Regions from separate parts of the Homo sapiens genome. Here region 1 is linked to region 2. The links are contacts of gene promoters, found by promoter capture Hi-C in blood cells and fetal thymus (Javierre and others, 2016). All regions are on one chromosome and are shown on one strand. Each heading gives the region's core, a stretch centred on a gene start or on the middle of the fragment in contact. The rest is flanking DNA. Distances are from core to core; before and after follow the strand shown. Region 1 overlaps ARHGAP18 (Rho GTPase activating protein 18). Region 2 holds the start of NCOA7-AS1 (NCOA7 antisense RNA 1).

Region 1 (3,099 bases), core at 505-3,004, 3.9 Mb before region 2:
TTGTTTTCTTTATTCCTGAATCTCAACATCTAGTTAATGCCAGGCAGGCTGTGGACAGTCAATAAATGTTTGCTAATTATGTGATGATGCTTTGGGACATAAGAATGTTGCTTTGTGTCTCTAGGGTTTTAGTTTATTTTTACCAGATCAAACTTTAGAATTCGACTAACACTAATGTCAGAAGTCTGTGTTTCAGTAACCATCTACAGATAATGGCACCCAGTTGTCCATGAGGAGATGCCATTTGCATCCTGTGTGGGTGACAGCTATGCTTTGATTCCTCTTGGATCTGTAGGACTACTTGCCTGTAAGACCTCATGTATTGTTCTGGGGGTCTGCCAGAGAGGGAAGCTAGCCTCAGAACACGGGGAAATGAGGCAAGGGGGCTTCAGAAGTGGTCATGTCAGGATTCTGGCTTGGCAAAGAGAAAGGCGTGGGTTGTTTTATGTTCCAAAGCTGGAGTTATTTCTTCTGTGACCCTGGCATGTCTTCATACTTAACAGACACCAATATTGTCCTTTCCTTGGTTTAGCCAAAACCGGGGGTTAGGGTGGGTAGTAGGAGGTGAAGGAGCTTTTCTTCAGTATGTATGAAGGGGATTGACGTAATATCTGCTTTCATAAACTGAATCTCCAGTGAGCCTTCCTTTAAAAAATAATTGTATGTAAAAACCACATAATGATTCTGTAATTACAGTGTGTTGGCACAGTTGTTAAATTATAAATTTAATAAGCTAAGATGAGCTCAGTAAGAGTATAGGCTTTTCACTGGAGTGAAAGGACATTACTTGATGAGATACAGCAGAGAGGAAACAATAGACTTTTTGTGTAGCTGCCTGAAACTTCTGCTAGGTGAAGGCAAGCCAATAAATGAAGAAGAAGGGATAATGGATTGCCTAACCTGTGAACTTGGTCACCATGTTCTTTGAAAACAAAGTGAAATGCAATGTGTTGTCTTTGGACTGTCTCACAGTGCTTACCCTACATCAGACAACCCTTGTCTAGTATTTCACGGATTTTGATTTGCTATTTATTTTGCATTTGCCTTCATGTTGCTATGTTTTAAGCCATGAAATGAATTATTTATTCTGTTTATACAAGCAAAAAAAAGTTAATAGCTCAAATAAAATGGGAATATATTTGTAATGGCATCATAGTATATGATGTGGTATTTTTATTCTTGCTTAAGAGGCTGAAGATTGAATTTGTATACTAATTCAGATCTGGAGAGAGAAGAAAGTAGATGGGGCTTATATACAAGCAGTCATTGAATTATTGATTTATATGTAGGTTTTCTACCTCAGGATGTTTTCTTTTTTGGAGGACACTGTTAAGTATTAACAATGTTAAGAAATACTTCTAGCTGGGCGCGGTGGCTCACGCCTGTAATCCCAGCACTTTGGGAGGCCGAGGCAGGCGGATCACGAGGTTAGGAGTTCAAGACGAGCCTGGCCAACATAGTAAAACCCTGTCTCTACCAAAAATACAAAAATTAGCTGGACATGGCAGTGCGTGCCTGTAGTCCCAGCTACTCAGGAGGCTGAGGCAGGAGAATCACTTGAACTCGGGAGGTGGAGGTTACAGTGAGCCGCGATTGTGCTACTGCACTCCAGCTTGGGCAACAGAGTAAGACTTCGTCTCAAAAAACAACAACAACAGCAAAAAAAACTTCTGATTAAGGATCTTGGCAAGTGGATTCTAGAATGGCAGCAATTCTCCATGTCCAGGAAACTAGAGAAGGAGGCGAGTCAGGATTATGGTGGGCTGTGTTACAGTTCTACTCAAAGGGTTTATCGGGAAGGCAGAGATTTGGCCCATCCTCCACTGCTGTCATTGCTGAAGTACAAAGTCATAATGCCTCCTCACTGTTTTCCTTGGAGCCCTGAGGTCCATACATACTCTCTGGGTTATCCATATAATTTTGCCTTTAGGCTTTTAGGCTCTCTAGCCAAGAATTCCTTTTTCAGTTAAGGAAAAGCAACTATAAGGAGCATGTCCCCTGGATGAATGCCATGTTACTCTTCCAGTTCTGGAAACGATCTGGCTCCAGGGTACCACCAGACCAGGCTTCGGCCTTGCCCAGATTTACCTCTGATCCTAAAGGCTCCTGAGAACTGGCCCTGTGTAGGGGGCTGCTTGCTGAGCTTTCTTGGGCTCTTTCTCCCAGGATTAATACAGTGCAGTGTCAAGCCAGAGTTCTGAAATGGGTCAGTAAAAGTTACAGGAGCTGTTCGAAAGGAAATTTGAGGTTATTATTGAGGAGGAAGGAGAGGGGGAGAAAAGAGGTATAATATTAGTTTTAATTTGTATGGTACTTCCCAGTATAATTTAATTAAATTCTCACCTTAAACGCCTTAAATAACTTAGGAGTAGAGAACCTTGCTTTTGGGGACCTATTCAGAAGCAGAAAAACTCTTCAGATATGTTTGGAGCAGAACTGTAAATGCTCTGGCTTAGTAAATTTGTATTTTTTTTCTTATTACCCTTTTTCATTCTTAGGCTTTCTGTGTAGGTATGATTGTCTGATAGTGGCTTCCAAAAATTTTTAAAAAGGTCCTAATTCACAGAAGTTGTGAATGTGAACTTATTTGGAAAAAGGGTCTTTGCAGATGTGATTAAGTTAAGATCTTGAGATGGGAAATTATCCTGGATTATCCAGTTGGGTCCTAAATGCAATTACAAGTATCCTTTTAGGTGGCAGAGGGAGATTTGATATGCAGAGGAGAAGCATGTAAAGATGGAGGCGGAGATTGAAGTCATGTGGCCACGGCAAGGAAATGCTGGTACTGCCAGATAGACACTGGAAGAGGCAAGGACTGGATCCCTAGAGGCTTCGGAGGGAGTGCTGCCTTGCTGACACCAGGATTTCAGCCCAGTGATCCTGCTTTTAAATTTCTAGTCTCCAGACTTTTAGAGAATAGATTTCATTTGTTTTAAGCCACCAAATTTTGGTAATTTGTTATAGCAGCCACATGAAACCAATGCAGGAGGGAAGAGAAATAAAAACGAAATGGAAAGCAACTTGTTCAGGAGGACCCTACCACCAAACTTAATTTTCATGAAAGAACACCCTGTTGTTTACTTACATGTAATATCAGCT
Region 2 (3,113 bases), core at 64-2,563:
AGAGGTGGTGCTGGCTCCTACTGCTGCTCTGAAAGGCTGGGTTAAGAGGAAAGCGGAGGTGGGAGCAGCAGTTCTGCTTTTCATGACAACCAGGGAATAGGGGAGGTGGGAGCCAACAAGGGACCTACATGAACACCCAGTCTGTGTCTTCGTCTATATTACTCACTGTTTACTCCCAGGCTCTCACACCTTATCAGAGGGGAAAAGTAAACCTCCCACAAAACACCATTTGGTTCAACTACAGATGTATTTTGGATATCTTCAATCAACGCTTGATCCTGAAAAAATGCTTTCAAAGAATCTTCAACCAATGGCATACAAGGACCTACTCGGAAATCACAAAAGCCAAATAATGTCAAGCAAGTGTGTAAGAAGACAGCCCTGTATGGCAATACTAAAGAAAATTTTGCATTCTAACTACAAGGGGAAGGAAGAGTCAGCAGGGGTGTAACAAATGACACATGATAGTCACCCCAGAGGATAGCATAAATTGTACACAGTACAAATAGTACAGAAAGTATAATTTGCTTTAGTAATTCAGTTTTTCATTTGGTTTTCAAGACCTGTCAGGGATCAAGAAATTAATATAGACATATACTAATTTTGCATATATAAATTATTTGCAAAACCATTTGTGAAAAAGTTTCACAAATCATTCAATCTAGATTTAACAACTGTTATAAAACTATCCTGAAGCACCTGAAAACCAGTTGGACCAGGGTCAGAAAATCCAAAAAATTCATCAGGTCTTATCCAGAATTACTCTATCTAGTAGCAGTATTAATCCACCCCTCTATTTAGAGTTACACAGGCATATTTCAAGATAAATTATAAGAAAGGAAAGACTGGGTGACCCTCAAATCACTAATTTCAATCCAAAATTATTAAAATAGGGTATTTTAAACTCTATTTTGATGTTAAAGAGCGAAACGTCAACAAAACAGGTTTGGCAAAGGACTATTTATCAAACACAGTCACACAACGATTATGAAACCACATGATAAGATAGCACACAAAGAAAACATTGGCTATTTAACTACTCAGGAGGAAAAACTAGGTGTTCCTAGTTTTTCCTAGGTGGAAGGGGGAAGCAGGCTAAAAAGCAGTTTTTAGGGTTTCAGATATGTAATTGTGGCAGCAGGCACAGCATCAGGGTAAATCTTCCTTTTGACTTCCTCAGAACACCAGTTGAGATTTATGTAAGGTGGTATAATTTAGTTTAGAGAAAACTGAGATTGCATCAGTTTGGCCTCACCCTTGGCCTGACATTTTATCCTTCTCTCCAGAGATCTTGCTTGGACTGCCCTTAAGTACGCTGCTCCAGAGAACTCTGCTCTACATTGTCAGAAACCAGCTTTCAAGTAAGTTCTGTTGCTAGTTCCACATGGTAATTCCACAGTTAAGTCAGAAGGCATTTGAAAAGATGTATAACTTTGGATGGCTCTTTTCTGATTATAGGCTGAAGGGGGTTCTTTTCTCTTTGGTTTGCCTTTTGCTTTTAATAGCTTGACCATTTCTGGCTTCCACTGCATTGTAAGAGCTAAACTACAGGTTTGTCAGTCAGTGTTTCTCTCTCTGTCTCTTTCTCTCTCTCCCTGCTCCTACCCCCTCTTCTCTCCATTCTCCTCTCTCCATCTCTCTCATTTCCTAGTTACAAATCATGTTGTCTTACTGTCTTAAGAGCATCACTGATTTCATCCTTGTGCCACTGTCCCTATGCTCCCAAGATCACATTTCAGCATTTTAGGATACGTTTTTTGTTTCATTTTTAGAATACTTTTCAGAAGAGGTCATGATAAGCAAGACAATTTTACATTTCTGAGTTGAAAAAACTGTGCTGCTCTTCCAGAACAGTTTTGGTTTGTATTCTCAGTTTCAGGGGCTCCCCTGACTCTACATTTTAGGAACAAGAAGAGGTTAACATTGAGCAGGTTGTTCATGAACCGGCAGTTACCTTTACTACAGGAATCACTTTGGATTCAGGCTGAGAAGGCACTATAGCTCTTAAAATCACTATGTAGGGCAAGTGAAGAAGAAAGAAAAGAAAGAAGAAGAAAGTAAGGAGGAGGAGGAAGGAGGAGGTGGGAGAAAGAAGGAAGGGGGAGAAGCGGGAAGGGGGAGGAGGAAGAAGAGGAGGAAGAGGAGCAGGAAGAGGAGCAGGAAGAAAGGGAGGAGGTGAGGAAGGGAGACGGGGAGGAAGGGGAGGAGAAGCATGACCACCATTTTGACCTAAACTCATATCTTATCCACAAATAAATTCAAAATGGATCACAGACTTAAATATAAAACATAATGCTATAAAATTTTCAGAAAAGAAAAACAGGAGAGAATCTTCAGAACATACAGCTAGGCAAAGAGATCTTAGAATTCAGACCAAAAGCACAATTCATAAAAGGAGAAACTGATAAATTGAACCACATCAAAATTAAAACCTTTTGCTCTGCAACTCTGTTAACTGGATGAAAAGACAAACTACAGTCCGGGAGAAAATATTTGCAAATCACATATCCAACAAAAGACTAGAATGTGTACAATTCAACAGTAAAAACCTAAACAATTCAATTAGAAAATGGGCAAAAGATAGGAAAGGAGATGCCACTAAAGAAGATACACTATGGCTAATAATAAGCACATGAAAATGTTAAACTTCACTAACCATTAAGGAAATACAAATTAAAACCATAATGAGATATCACTACATACTTATCAGAATAGCTAAGATAAAAATAAAAAATATTGACACCACCAAATGACAATGCAGACAAACTGGATTACTCAGACTTTGCTGATGGGAATGTCAAATGTTACAACCATTCCAGAAAAGAGTATTGCACTTTTTTATAAAACTAAAAATACACTTATCTTTTGACCCAGCAATTGCACTCTCAGACAATTATCTCAGGGAAATGAAAACTCATGCTCATACAAAAACTTGTACATAAATGATTGTAGCATCTAGCATCTTTGTTCATAAATAGCCCAAACTGGAAACAACCTAAATGCCCTTCAATGGGTAAATGACTAAAAAGCTGTGATTCATCCATACTATGGAATGCTACTGTGCAATAAAAAGGAACAAACTATCGATACATGCAACAGCTTTGAGGGATGTC

What was found. Contacts are between HindIII fragments. The CHiCAGO score rates a contact against its expected background, and 5 or more counts as called.
Region 1: a contact is called between a fragment that was not itself captured here and the fragment with the promoter of NCOA7-AS1 in region 2, in 1 of 17 cell types (M0 macrophages). The highest score is 6.0, in M0 macrophages.

The regions. Positions count from the first base shown.
Region 1 is chr6:129,679,637-129,682,735 of GRCh38, reverse strand. The region is part of intron 1 of ARHGAP18 (Rho GTPase activating protein 18); the gene reads left to right. Among named protein-coding and RNA genes, the nearest start is that of ARHGAP18, 29 kb to the left of the region's middle. The HindIII fragment of the contact is 6,181 bases long and covers 1-3,099 here.
Region 2 is chr6:125,817,058-125,820,170 of GRCh38, reverse strand. NCOA7-AS1 (NCOA7 antisense RNA 1) reads left to right here and starts at 1,313. Exons shown (of 3, transcript NR_126386.1): 1 at 1,313-1,361. The region is part of intron 2 of NCOA7 (nuclear receptor coactivator 7); the gene reads right to left. RefSeq lists an enhancer at 1,587-2,088. The HindIII fragment of the contact is 4,548 bases long and covers 1-3,113 here.